Regions from separate parts of the Homo sapiens genome. Here region 2 is linked to region 1. The links are contacts of gene promoters, found by promoter capture Hi-C in human tissues and cell types (Jung and others, 2019). All regions are on one chromosome and are shown on one strand. The core of a region is centred on a gene start or on the middle of the fragment in contact, and the rest is flanking DNA. Distances in the headings are between cores, read along the strand shown. Region 1 holds the start of CYP2F1 (cytochrome P450 family 2 subfamily F member 1). Region 2 has its middle 37 kb from the start of CYP2B6.

Region 1 (6,499 bases), core at 3,571-6,070:
GGGTTTTACCATGTTGGCCAGGCTGGTCTTGAACTCCTGATCTCTATTGATCTGCCCATCTCAGCCTCCCAAAGTGCCGAATTACAGGCATGAGCCACCATGCCCGGCCAGCTTATTGGCTCTTTATGAAAAATATTCAATAGAGAGAAGAAAACAAATCACACAGGAAATGAAAACATGACACAGCCACTTTGGAAAAGAGTTTGGAAGTTTCTTATAAATATACACTCATCATAGAACCCAGCAGTCACACTCACAGATATATCCAGATACACGAAACATAGATCCCCACAAAGACATATGCATATATGCCAAGAATAATACATATTATTCAAAATAGCCAGACCTTGGGAACAATCCACATTTCCATCAACTGGTGAAAAGCAAATTGTGGCACATCTATATGCGGTGACATGCTACTCTGCAATGAAAAGGAATGAGCTTCTGATGTATGTAACACATGGTTAACTCTCAAAAGCATTACGTATGCTTCCCAGAAGCAGGCTTGGTATATGGAAGAAATGCTGTAGATTTTCTTTTCTTTTTTTTTTTTTTGAGACGGAGTCTCGCTCTGTCGCCCAGGCTGGAGTACAGTGGCATGATCTTGGCTCACTGCCACCTCCGCCTCCCAGGTTCAAGTGATTCTCCTGCCTCAGGCTCCCGACTAGCTGGGATTACAGGCACCCTCCATCAAGTCCAGCTAATTTTTGTATTTTTCATAGAGAGAGGGGTTCACCACGTTGGCCAGGCTGGTCTCAAATTCCTGACCTCAGGTGATCCACCCGCCTCAGCCTCCCAAAAAGCTAAGATTACAGGCGTGAGCCACCATGCCCAGCCGTAGATTTTCATTTATATGAAATGTAGATCAATAGTGGGAAGAAAAAACTAGAACAGGGCTGGATGCAGTGGCTCAAGCCTGTAATCCCAGCACTCTGGGAGGCTGAGGCAGAAGGATTGCTTGAGCCCAGGAGTTCGAGATCAGCCTGGGCAACATAGGGAGACCTCTGCCTCTACAAAAAATTTTTAAATTAGCCAGTTGTGATGGCACAGGCCTCTACTTCCAGCTACTCAGGAGGCTGAGGCCGGGGGATCATTTGAGCCAGGGAGGTCAAGGTTGCAGTGAACAATGATCACACCACTGCACTCCAGCCTGGGGGACAGAGCAAGACCCTGTCTCAAAAGAAGAGAAAAAAACCTAGAACAATGGTTGCCCACAAGAGATGGAGCATGGTTGACTAGGAAGGAGTAGGAAGGAGGGTTCTCTTTTCATTATTATTATTACTTTAGAGAAGGGAGTCTCTCTTTGTCACCCAGGCTGGAGTGCAGGGGTGTGTTCATAGCTCACTGTAGCCTGGAACTCCTGGGTGCAAGTGATCTTCCACCTCAGCCCCTTGAGTAGCTGGGATTACAAGCGTGCACCACCACACTTAGCTATTGTTTTTTTCTTTTTTTTAGTAGAGACAGGGGTCTCGCAATGTTGCACAGCCTGGTCTCAAATTTCTGGCCTCTAGTGATCCTTCCACCTCAGCCTCCTATAGCTAGGATTATAGGCACAAACCACCACGCCCAGCTCCAAGAGAACTTTCTTGGATGATGAAAATATTCTGTATCTTCACAGGGATTTCGATACCTTCAAAATTCAGCAAATGTTCACTTACCATGTGTGTATTTCATCACAGGTAAATTTTACCTAAAGAAATCGTTAAGGGAAAACTCCATCTACACACCTTCACAGGAACTATGACACAGTAAATAGAATCAAGTCCTCCAGTTGGCGATGGAATGGGATCTGGCACACCAGAAGGGGGCTCACCTAAGCCTGACATGGGACACTGTGTGGTTCTAGCAGGAAGGAAGGCTGCATGTGCCGTCCAGATGCCAGTGGGCAAGAGGACAGGATGATGGAGGATGCGCCCGCTTACTGCCCATTGCTGCCATTCTCTCCGTGAGATAAGAAGCGGGTTCATCAACAAAGAGTGAGGTGACTGAAGAGGGTTTTGGAGTTTGAGGAGGCAGGAACAAAAGGATAGGAATAGGGCGGGGGGAGTTCCAAGAGAGGACAATGAGAGGCGAGGCATTTTTCCACCACGGAGTGTGTTTCAGCTTTCTGCAATACCCCAGCGGTTCTCAACTGGGTTGATTTTTTTCCTCCCAAGGGGACATTCAATAGTATCTGGAGTCATGTTTGTTTGTAACAACTGGTAGGGAATGAGTGGGTGGGTTCTGTCATCTACTGAGTAGAAACCAAGGACACTGCTAAACATCCTACCACACACAGGATGCAGCCCCCACCACCCATGAAGGCCCAAGACATCAACAGCAGTGAGTTGAGAAATTGCAATACATCCCTTCCTTGCCCCAAGTTCCCTCTGTAGCAGGAGAGCAAGTCAGAATAACAGAACTCAAAGCCTCTTAAAACCCCCCTTCTCGGCCACACATGGTGGCTCACGCCTGTAATCCCCAGAGGCCCAGGTGGGAGGATCGCTTGAGCCCAGGAGTTGGGGACCAGACTGGGTGACATAGCATGCTAGATCTCATCTCTACTAAAAATTTTAAAAATTAGCCAGGTGTGGTGATGCGTGCTTGTAGTCCCAGCTACTTGGGAAGCTGAGGCAGGAGAATCCCTTAAGCCCAGGAGATCGAGGCTGCAATGAGCTATGATCACACCACTAAACTCCAGTCTGGGTGACAGAGTGAGACCCTGTGTCAAAACAAACTAACTAACTGCCCTTCCCATAAATCCCAGTTTCCCCAATCAGGTGGTCCCATTAGGCCCATCTTTTTTTTCTTTTTTTTTCTTTTTTTTGAGTCAAAGTTTCACTCTTGTTGCCCAGGCTGGAGTGCAATGGTACAATCTCAGCTCACTGCAACCTCCACCTCCCGGGTTCAAGTGATTCTCCTGCCTCAGCCTCCTGAGTAGCTGGGATTATAGGCAAGCACCACCACGCCTGGCTAATTTTTTTTGTATTTTTAGTAGAGACAGGGTTTTGCCATGTTGGTCAGGCTGTCTCAAACTCCTGACCTCAGGTGATCCACCCACCTCGGCCTCCCAAAGTGCTGGGATTACAGGCATGAGCCACCACGCCCAGCCTCATTAGGCCCCTCTTAACCAAGTTCTAGGGTGAGGGATAAGTTGCTTACAGGGTTGGCGTGGATACAGCACTACACCCTCCCCTTAAAAGTAGGGAGTAGACGCCAAGGGAAACTAGAGCTATATAATCCCATCATCAAGCCTTCAGCCCTCTTCCAGGACCTGCCCCAACCGGCCTATCCAGGACTGAAACAACAGCATGGGCCCCACCTCCACCCCACCATATGCCTGGGACCTAGGGTGTCAAATTCCCCAGGACCTCCAAACACTTCCTCCTCTGCCCCTCTGAGAACAGCAATCCTGGTGCACACCCACGAACCTGTGGGGGTACCCACACCTCCACCTGGCCTCCCAGACCCTTGACCGCAGGGGCTCTCCACCCAGCCTAGCCCCTGGCACCAGAGCCCTGGCCCAGCTCCAGGTTTTGCATTCTGCCCTTGTGACCTGGCCAGGAGGTGGGTAACTAGGGCCAGTTTCTTCTTCTTTTTTTTTTTTTTTTTTTTTTGAGACCGAGTCTCACCCTGTTGCCCAGGCTGGAGTGCAGTGGCATGTTCTTAGCTCACTGCAACCTCCACCTCCCGGGTTCAAGCGATTCTCCTGCCCCAGCCTCCCAAGTAGCTCAGACTACAGGCGTGAGCCACCATGCCTGGCTAATTTTTGTATTATTAGTAGAGACAGGGTTTCACCATGTTGGCCAGGCTGGTCTTGAACTCCTGACCTCAGGTGATCCACCCACCTCGGCCTCCCAAAGTGCTGGGATTACAGGCGTGAGCCACTGCGCCTGGCCTACTAGGGTGAGTTTCTAAGGCAGGAGCTGAGAGTAGACATGGCTAGTAGGGTGCTCAGGAGGGCAGGAGGAGGGCTGTTTATGAGCCAGTGGTGGGAGAGAGTGTCATTCTAGTCTGAGAGGCTTTTTCCCTGTGGCTTCCAGCTCTGCCCTTTTCTTAAACACTCCTTCAGCCTCAGCTTGGCTTCAGTCCCACCAAGTGCAGTCTGACTCGTGGAGACATGAGAGATAGAGAGAGTGAGAGACCAGAGAGATCAGGAGACAGTGACTGAGAGGGACTTACAGGGAGATCAGGGAGAGAAGCAGAGAGAAGGAGAAAGCCCAGAGAGCATAAGAAATGAAGACCCAGAGACACCAAAGGAGGGAGAGACAGAGACACAGAGAGACAAAAAGATTCAGAGGCAGAGACTGTAGAGGCAGAAGCAAAGCAAGACACAGAGCATTTCAGAGACCCACGGCAAGAGACAGGGAACAGCATGGAGAACTATGAAAAAATAGGCTTCCAGAGAAAGAGAAAACTCCAGCTCTGGAGGGAAAGGGACTTAGCCAGGGCCACTCGGCCCATCAGTGGCAGAAATGGACTTGAACCCAGAGAAAAAGAAACAAGTGCCCCAAATACCAAAGGAACCCAGCCCCCATCCCTGGCCCATCATTTTGCGACAGCCCCATGACTACCCCAAAACCAGGCCCAGGCTCCAACTGGCAAAGCAAAAAAAAAAAACAAAGAAAGAAAGAAAGCTTTGCCCCATCCCAGGAGGGCCCCCAGGCGCAGCCCCCTCCCACGGCACCTTTCCAGCTGGCTGTGAGCCCTAGGGCCGCAGGAAAGGTATGGCAAGATGATGGGAGGGATTTAAAGTTCACAGCGAGAACAAGAAAAGTGGGGTTAAGGAGGAGGGTGTGGGCAGAAACAACTTAAGAACAACCTCTGCCCCACCACCCCCCAAGCACACCCAGAGCTGCAGGCTCTAGCGCATCCCAGCCAGTGTCTCCTGCAGCTCAGCAGGTAAAGGGCCCCGGTGAGGGAGGCAGAGAAGGAGGGGGTGTCTCCCAAGAGAGGGTGGGTCGCCAGCTCCAATCTCTGTCTCTGAGACTGGCTAGGAATCTTTTTTGCTGTTTCCTCTGAGAGCTCTCATGTCCCTGTTCTGAGCACTGGGATTTCTTTACTGGTGCTTCACCAAGTAGGTGGCTTCTCTCTCTGCAATGCAACCCCATGGTTGGCAACACTTGATTTTTTCCTGTCACTGTTTCTGCCTGTGCCCTTCCTCTCTGTCTCCGTCTCTTTCTCTCTCTCTCTCTCTCTTTTTTTTTTTTTTTTTTTTTTTGAGGCTGGAGTGCAGTGGTTCAATCTCAGCTCACTGCAACCTCCACCTCCTGGGTTCAAGCGATTCTCCTGCCTCAGCCTCCTGAGTAGCTGGGATTACAGGTGCCTAACACCACGCCTGACTAATTTTTGTGTTTTTAGTAGAGACAGGGTTTCACCATGTTGGCCAGGCTGGTCTCAAACTCCTGACCTCAAGTGATCCGCCTGCCTCGGCCTCCCAGAGTGCTGGGATTACAGGCGTGAGCCACCGTGCCCGGCCTCAGTCTCTCTTGGTCTGCCCTTTGCAGCCTACCCGTCTCTTTGTGTGGCTCTAATATTCCCTGCCTCTCTTATTCTCTCTCTCTCTCTCTCCATCTCTGTCTATGTGACTCTGTCTTTGTGTATCTGTTTCTGTCTGTCATTCTCGTCTCCCTCAGTCTCTGTGTCTAGCTCTGTCTCTCCCTCTCTCTGTCCCTCTTACCCTTTTTCTCTCCATCCTTCCATGTCCCTCTCTGTCTCTCAGTCAGTGTCCATCTCACTGTCTCTCCACTCAATCTCCCTTGTCTTTCTCTAGCTCTGTGTCTGTCTAGTTCTGTCTCTTTCTTTCTCTAGTCTATGTCAGCCTCTCTCTTTCTGTGATGTGCTCTCTGGCTCTCCCTATCTCTGTGTTTGTCTGTCTCTGTCCCTGTGTGTCTTGATCTCTCTTTATCACTGTCTCTGTATGACAGTCTCTTGACAGACAGGTGATGATAGATAGATAATAGACAGATGATACACAGATGATAGATTATGAAGATAGTAGATAGATGATAGATATAGATAGATAATAGATGATAGATAATAGACAGATCAATGATAGATGATAGAAGAATAGATAGATGATGGATAGACAGATGATAGATGATAGATAGATAGATAGATGATAGATAGATGTTGATAGATGTTAGATAATAGATGAGAAACAAAGAAAGAAAGAAAAAGAAAAAAGAAAGAAAGAAAAAGAAAGGAAGGAAGGAAGGAAAGAAAGAGTGATAGATGATAGATGGCTGATAGGTAGACAGACATCTGTAGATATGTAGATCGCTCACTGTTTTTCTGTCTCTCTCATTATCTTTATGCATATCTCTTGGCCTCTCTTAGTCTCTGTTCCTCTATCACTTGCCTCTCTCCATTTATGTCTCTGTGTTTCTGTCTCCTTATCTGTCTATATGTTGACTATCTCTGCCTCTTTCCTCCTTTCTCCCTCCCTTCCCCATCCCCTGGCCTCTCCCTGTCTCCTTCTCTCCATCTGCCTTCATTTCCAGGGCCTAGGGAAGGTAAG
Region 2 (6,499 bases), core at 2,716-5,215, 160 kb before region 1:
GCCCAGAATAAATTATCATCCCCAAAGGGCCCAGGATGCCCCCAGTTCTGCCTGCCAGTTACTCTCAATCCCCTGTGCTGCAATGCCACCTTTTGATAAAGCTTAGCGCTATTCTTGAAGTGGAACCACTCTAAATTCAGCCTCCAGGCTGGACACGGTGGCTTATGGCTATAATCCCAGTACTTTGGGAGGCCGAGTCAGGTGGATCACCTCAAGTCAGGGGGTCGAGACCAGCCTGCCCAACATACAGAAACCCTGTCTCAACTAAAAAAATAGAAAAATTAGCTGGGTGTGGTGGCACGCACCTGTAGTCCCAGCTACTTGGGAGGCTGAGACAGGAAAATCGCTTGAACGCAGGAGGCAGAGGTTGCAGTGAGCCAATATCCCACCACTGCACTCCAGCCTGGGTGACAAAGCGAGATTCCATCTCAAAAATAAATAAATAAATAAATAAATACAACCTCCACATATTCCACCAGCAGGACCACCACCCTTCCCTGAGGGAGTTGTTGCAAGTTTAATATCTTTATCGCAAGGATACATCAGCCAGCCTGTGGCCAATGGGAAGCTGGTTCTGGGACTCAGCCCTGAGATGCTAACCTTTTGGCCTCTGCAGCACCTGCCAGCTTTAGGCTCCTTGTAGCCTCTGAAGAGTTAGCAGGGACTCTGCCTGTGCAAATGCATGGCACACATTCCCTCACCAACCACAGAAATAAAACAACAAACAGAGAAACATGTCTTTTAAGAGTGACAGCAGAATCTGCCCGGCTTATTTCACCTAACATAACTTCCTGCAGTTCCATCCATGTTGCTGCAAATATCAGGATCTTTTTCTTTTTTAATGGCTGAATAGTACTCCCATCTGTATGGGCACCATATGAACACTTAGGTTGATTCCATATCTTGGCTGTTGTGAACAGAGCTGCGAAATACATGGGAGTGCAGACATCTCTTCGGTATACAGATTTCCTTTTATTGGAATACACTTAGCAGTGGGATTGCTGGATTGTATGGTAGCTCGATTTTTAATGTTTTTCTTTTTTGTTTGTTTATTTTTATTTTATTTTATTTTTTTTTTGAGATGGAGTCTTACTCTGTTACCCAGGCTGGAGTGCAGTGGTATGATCTTAGCTCACTGCAGCCTCTGCCTCCTGGGTTCAAGCCATTCTCTTGCCTCAGCCTCCCAAGTAGCTGGGACTACAGGCACCCACCATCACGCCTGGCTGATTTTGTATTTTTAGTAGAGATGGAGTTTCACCATGTTGGCCAGGCTGGTCTTGAACTCCTGACTTCAGGTGATCTGCCTACCTCAGCCTCCCAAAGTGCTGGGATTACAGGCATAAGTCACTGCGCCTGGCCTATTTCTACTTTTTTTTTTAAGGAAACTCCATATTGTTCCTCAAAGTGGCTCTACTAATATACATTACCACCAACAGTGTACAAAGGTTCCATGGGGGATTCTTTCAGATTGAGTGGTCAGAGAGGGCTTCTTTGAGAAGGCTTCTGAGAGTTGGCCATGAGAAGGTGTGGTGAGAAGCCTTCTCAGCTGAGGGAACAGCAAGGTAAAAGGCCCGGAGGTGAGAAAGCAAACTTGGCACCTTCCGGGAGCAAGCAGGCATTGCCTCTGATAATGTTTCCTCCTGGTAAAATGACAGCTCTGGGAGGGCAGGGTTCTTATTTCCTATCTATCTATCTATCATCTATCTATCTATCTATCTATCTATCTATCTATCTATCTATCTATCATCTATCTATCATCTATCTATCTATCATCTATCTATCTATCTATATCTATCTGTCTATCTAATCACCTATCTTTCTATGTATCTATCATCTATGTATCTATCCATCTGTCTTTATTTATTTATAGAGTCAGAGTCTTGCTCTGTTGCCCATTGTATTAGTCCGTTTTTATGCTGCTGATAAAAACATACCTTAGACTGGGTAATTTATAAAGAAAAAGAGGTTTAATAAACTCACAGTTACACATGACTGGGGAGGCCTCACAATCATGCTGAAAGGCAAAAGTCACATCTTACATGGCGCTGGCAAGAGAGAGAATGAGAACCAAGTGAAAGGGGTTTTCCATTATAAAACCAACAGATCACATGAGACTTATTGACTAGTATGAGGACAGTATGGGGGAAACCACCCCTATGATTCAATGATCTCCCACCGGGTCCCTCCCACAACATGTAGGGATTATGGCAGCTACAATTCAAGATGAGATTTGGATGGGGACACAGCAAAACCATATCACCCAGACTGGAGTGCAGTGGTGTGATCATGGCTCATTGCGGCCTCCAACTCCTGGATTCAAGCAATCCTCCCATCTCAGCCTCCTGAGTAGTGAGGACTAAGTTTGTGATACCACCTCTGGCTAACTTTTAAATATTTTGAAAGGATGTAGTCTTGCTATTTTGCCCAGGCTGGTCTTGTACTCTTGGTCTGAAATGATCTCCCCATCTTGACGTCCCAAAGCACTGAGATTACAGGTGTGAGCCATTGCACCTGGCAGGTTCTCATTTACTTAATTATTACTGTTGTCATGGTTTGCTTTGGTCCCTGTGGGTTCCCCCACCCTCCAGAACAAGTGCCTGACATATAGTAGGGTTCACAATAAATATTTGTGGAGTAAATAAGAGCTGAGCCTTCAAGGGATCCAAAATACTTGCATGGAGTTTTTCTAGGTGGGTACAATGCCACCCAGCTGCATGACTATTTCAGGGTGTTCATTGGCTCCTTTGGGTGATATTTTGACATCTATATAAGAACTCCCACTTCTCCAAATCTGGGGGCCACATCTTTAGAGTTCTCAGCTTCCCGTCTGTCAGGAATGAAGGAGATAATATCACTGATTGGAGCCAGATTGTCTGGATGTTGAATCCCAGCTCCTTGCTGGTGCCCTTGAGAAGTGACTTAAGCCCTCTGTGTGCCTTATTTCTGCCTCTGTAAGCAGAGATCATCATAGCACCTCTAATGTGGGGCTGTTTGAAGATTCAGTGAGGTATGTGCAAAGAGCTTTTTGCACTTCCAAAAAGTGTCTGGGATATCATTGTGCACTGTAAGAATGCACTGTAACAATTATCATTGAGTCTTCTTGTTGGGATTAAAAGAGATCAGGTCTGTCAGGGCCTGGTACAGAAGTGGTATCAGAAAAATAATGACGTGCCGGCTGCTCACAAGGCTTCCCAGGCCAAGCTGGTGTGGGAAAGAGAGTTTCTGGAGTACCAGATGAGTTGGTCTCCCCTATGTGAGACACCCATGGGGAGCCATGGGCGGCCTCTGAGGAGAAAAGTCTCCTTATTGTCTTTATGTCTTTATGCTCCCAGAGCATACCTGCTCAGCGGCATTCCACAGGTTGCTCAGGGAGATAACACTTCCTTAAAGCAGTGAAGTACAATCAAACATCTTGGCTTCTTCTGAAACCCACTCCCACCCATTTCAGTCCTGATAAGATTTTAAGTAGTTTAGACACACGCCTTTGCTCAAGGAAATTCACAGAAACTGCCACTGCTCTACATCTTATTGAATAACTCACGAGTTCTCCTTCATTGATTAATCCTTTTTCTCATCCCTTCCTTGCCTTCTCATCTGCCCTAAGAACAAAGAGCTTGTAAGCCAATAAATTAGGCAGAGCCAAAGAGCTCTGGGCCATGAGCAAGCCTCTGACACTCTGGTCCCCCGGACCCACCTTTTAAATTCTCACTCTGTTTCTTTCTAACTCTTTAGTCTCCGTTGGACTCGCGGTACCTGCAGGGTGGTGTGGGGCTGGTTTCCCCAACATCTGGCGCCCAACGTGGGACTCCCCGTTATCTCTACAAATAATCTGGTGAAGGAATGCTAGAGCATGGAAAGTGGAAGATGACAGAAAAAGGGTGCCTGAATATGTTTTCACTTCAAGCTCTGTGGATAAGTAGTGTGCTTGGAGAATTCCACGGTAACCTCGGGAAAACGGGTCAGGCTGAGAGTAAATTTGCTAATTACTTAAGCTTGGTGTGGCAGTTATTGTGCCACAGAGGGGCAATTGTGAGTACCCAAAATCTCACATCTTTGTTCCAGCTCATAGAAAAGTATTCCCCTTGGTTCCCGGAATATGGAACCATGAATGTAAAAGACTGCGACAAGTTCGGAGCAGACTTAAAATGAGCACAACAAGAGGGCTACAATATTCCCTTGTCTGCTTGGTCTGTGTGGTCAGCAATCAAAATACCACTGGAGCCTTTCCACACTGAGGAGGATGAGAAGTTTCAGGATGACATAGAAAAGTTTAATAATCAGGAGTTTGATGATCTGCAAAGTGAACCATCACAGTTTAGTTTTAAAAAGGGGGAGAAAGGGATATATGCTAACCTCCAAAAACTTATAGAAGAAACATTTCCACCTACTGCAGAAACAGTGCCACCCACTGCGCCTTTAGGGGAAGGTCCAGAATGGCCACCCCCGCCTCAGCCTTATGAATTTTTGGAATGGGAGCCTGAGACATGACTTGCTGCTCCCATTGTTGCATGCCCCACAATTAACTATGTTGAAGGGAAGCTTCAGGCTCACCCAACAGCCAATTATGGTGAGGGAATGATCCAGGCTTGTCCACCTTTTAATTATGGTAGAGGAATGCTGTGAGCAGGTCCAAATACAAATTACGGTGCAGGGACAATCCAGGCATCTATTTACCAGGCATGAGATGTGGGGGATTTGGATGCTTGGCAGTTTCTGGTAATTATTTCTCCAGCTGAGGAGCCCAGACAACATGCTGAAGCATGCTGGGAGCCATTTCCTTTTAAAATATTAAAAGACTTAAAGCAAGCAATTGGACAATATGGGCCAAATTCTCCTTAGGTTCATTCCTTGTTACAATCTGTGGCTTATAACAGGCATTTAATACCTATGGATTGGGAGGCATTAGCCCACTCTACCCTGTCCCCCACTGAGTTTCTCCAATTTAAAACCTGGCGGACAGATCAAGCAACAACAAATCAGGCATGCAGAAATGCTCAAGCCCAACCTCCTGTTAATATCACATCTGATCACTTGCTTGGAATCAGACAGGCATGGGGTACTCTAAATTGACAGATGGTAATGGGTGATGAGACTGTTGATCAGCTCAGAACTATATGCCTCAGAGCCTGGGAAAAAATTCACGACCCTGGTACTACTTATACTTCTTTTAACTCAGTTCAACAGGGTCCAAAGGAGCCTTATCCAGATTTTATCACCCATTTGCAAGACACGGCTCAAAAGGCTATTTTGGATTCTCATGTCAGGAAAGTGATAGTTCAGCTGCTTGCTTATGAAAATGCTGATACAGAATGTCAGGCAGAAATTAGACCTATTAAGGGAAAGGCAGATCTAAATGAGGAAAAAACTTTAAGTGAATACATTAAAGCCTGTGATGGCATTGGAGGCACTTGAATAAGGCCAGCCTTCTTGCTCCGGCAATGGCTAGACTAAGGGTAACAAAAAACATATGAGTGTTCCCCAGATCTTGCTATAATTGTGGACAGATAGGACATACAAAAAGAGAGTGTACAAAAAAGGCAAAACTTAGGAGGAAAAAGCAGGGAACCAGGTACCTGTCCCAGATGTAAAAAAGGAAAACACTGGGCTAATCACTGTCATTCAAAGTTTGATAACAGCGGACAGCCCTTGCCAGGAAATGGACAGAGGGGCCAGCCACAGGCCCTAATTCAAAATGGGGCATTCCCAATTCAGGACAGGACGTCCCTGACTACAAATGGGGTGTTCCCAGCCCAGTCTTTCCCTGTACAAATGTGCAGCAATTGTTCCCCTCCACAGCTAAAAGTGGGGCAGTAGATTTATGCTGTACTGAAGCTGTATCCCTCCTTCCTGGGGAGCCTCCTAGGAAGGTCCCAATGGGAGCTTATGACCCATTGCCAGATGGCAAGGTGGGAAGGTCCAACTTAAATTTAAAGGCAATTCAAGTACACACTGGAGTAGTGGACTCTGATTGCCAGGGAGAAATTCAAATTGTTATCTCCTCCACTGTTCCCTGGAGTGCTAATCCAGGTGACAGAATAGCTCAACTGTGGCTTTTACTGTATATTAATTTAGAAGAAAGCTCAGAAAAAAGAACAGAATAATTTGGAAGCACAAATTCAGCAGGCAAGCCTCCCTATTGGTAAATCAAGTCTCTGACAATAGATCTATTTGTATGGTCACTATTCAAGGAAAACAATTTGAGGGTGTGGTCGACACAGGAGCAGATGTGTCCATCATAGCTCTTTATCAATGACCAAAAAAGTGGCCCAAACAAAAGGCCCCAGTGGGTCTTGTTGGGGTTGAGGGTTTGCTTGTATCTCACCAGGAGAGAATCAGCTTCCTGTCTGGGTACCCACAAGACATCTTAAGTTGTGCCATGAGCCAGAACCCAAGGAAGAGGAAAAGACCTCGGAATGTCTCTGCACCCCCAGTTCATCAGATGGCTCAGATGAACATCTCTGTTGAGCAGATGGAAACCAGTAAAACTCACCAAGCAACT

Evidence for each region. Contacts are between HindIII fragments. The study calls those that stand out against the background at their distance.
Region 2: a contact is called between a fragment that was not itself captured here and the fragment with the promoter of CYP2F1 in region 1, in 2 of the 25 tissues and cell types used here (IMR-90 fibroblasts and stomach).

The regions. Positions count from the first base shown.
Region 1 is chr19:41,109,612-41,116,110 of GRCh38, forward strand. CYP2F1 (cytochrome P450 family 2 subfamily F member 1) reads left to right here and starts at 4,821. Exons shown (of 10, transcript NM_000774.5): 1 at 4,821-4,881. The HindIII fragment of the contact is 13,902 bases long and covers 1-6,499 here.
Region 2 is chr19:40,950,968-40,957,466 of GRCh38, forward strand. No RefSeq gene overlaps it. Among named protein-coding and RNA genes, the nearest start is that of CYP2B6, 37 kb to the right of the region's middle. The HindIII fragment of the contact is 3,838 bases long and covers 2,047-5,884 here.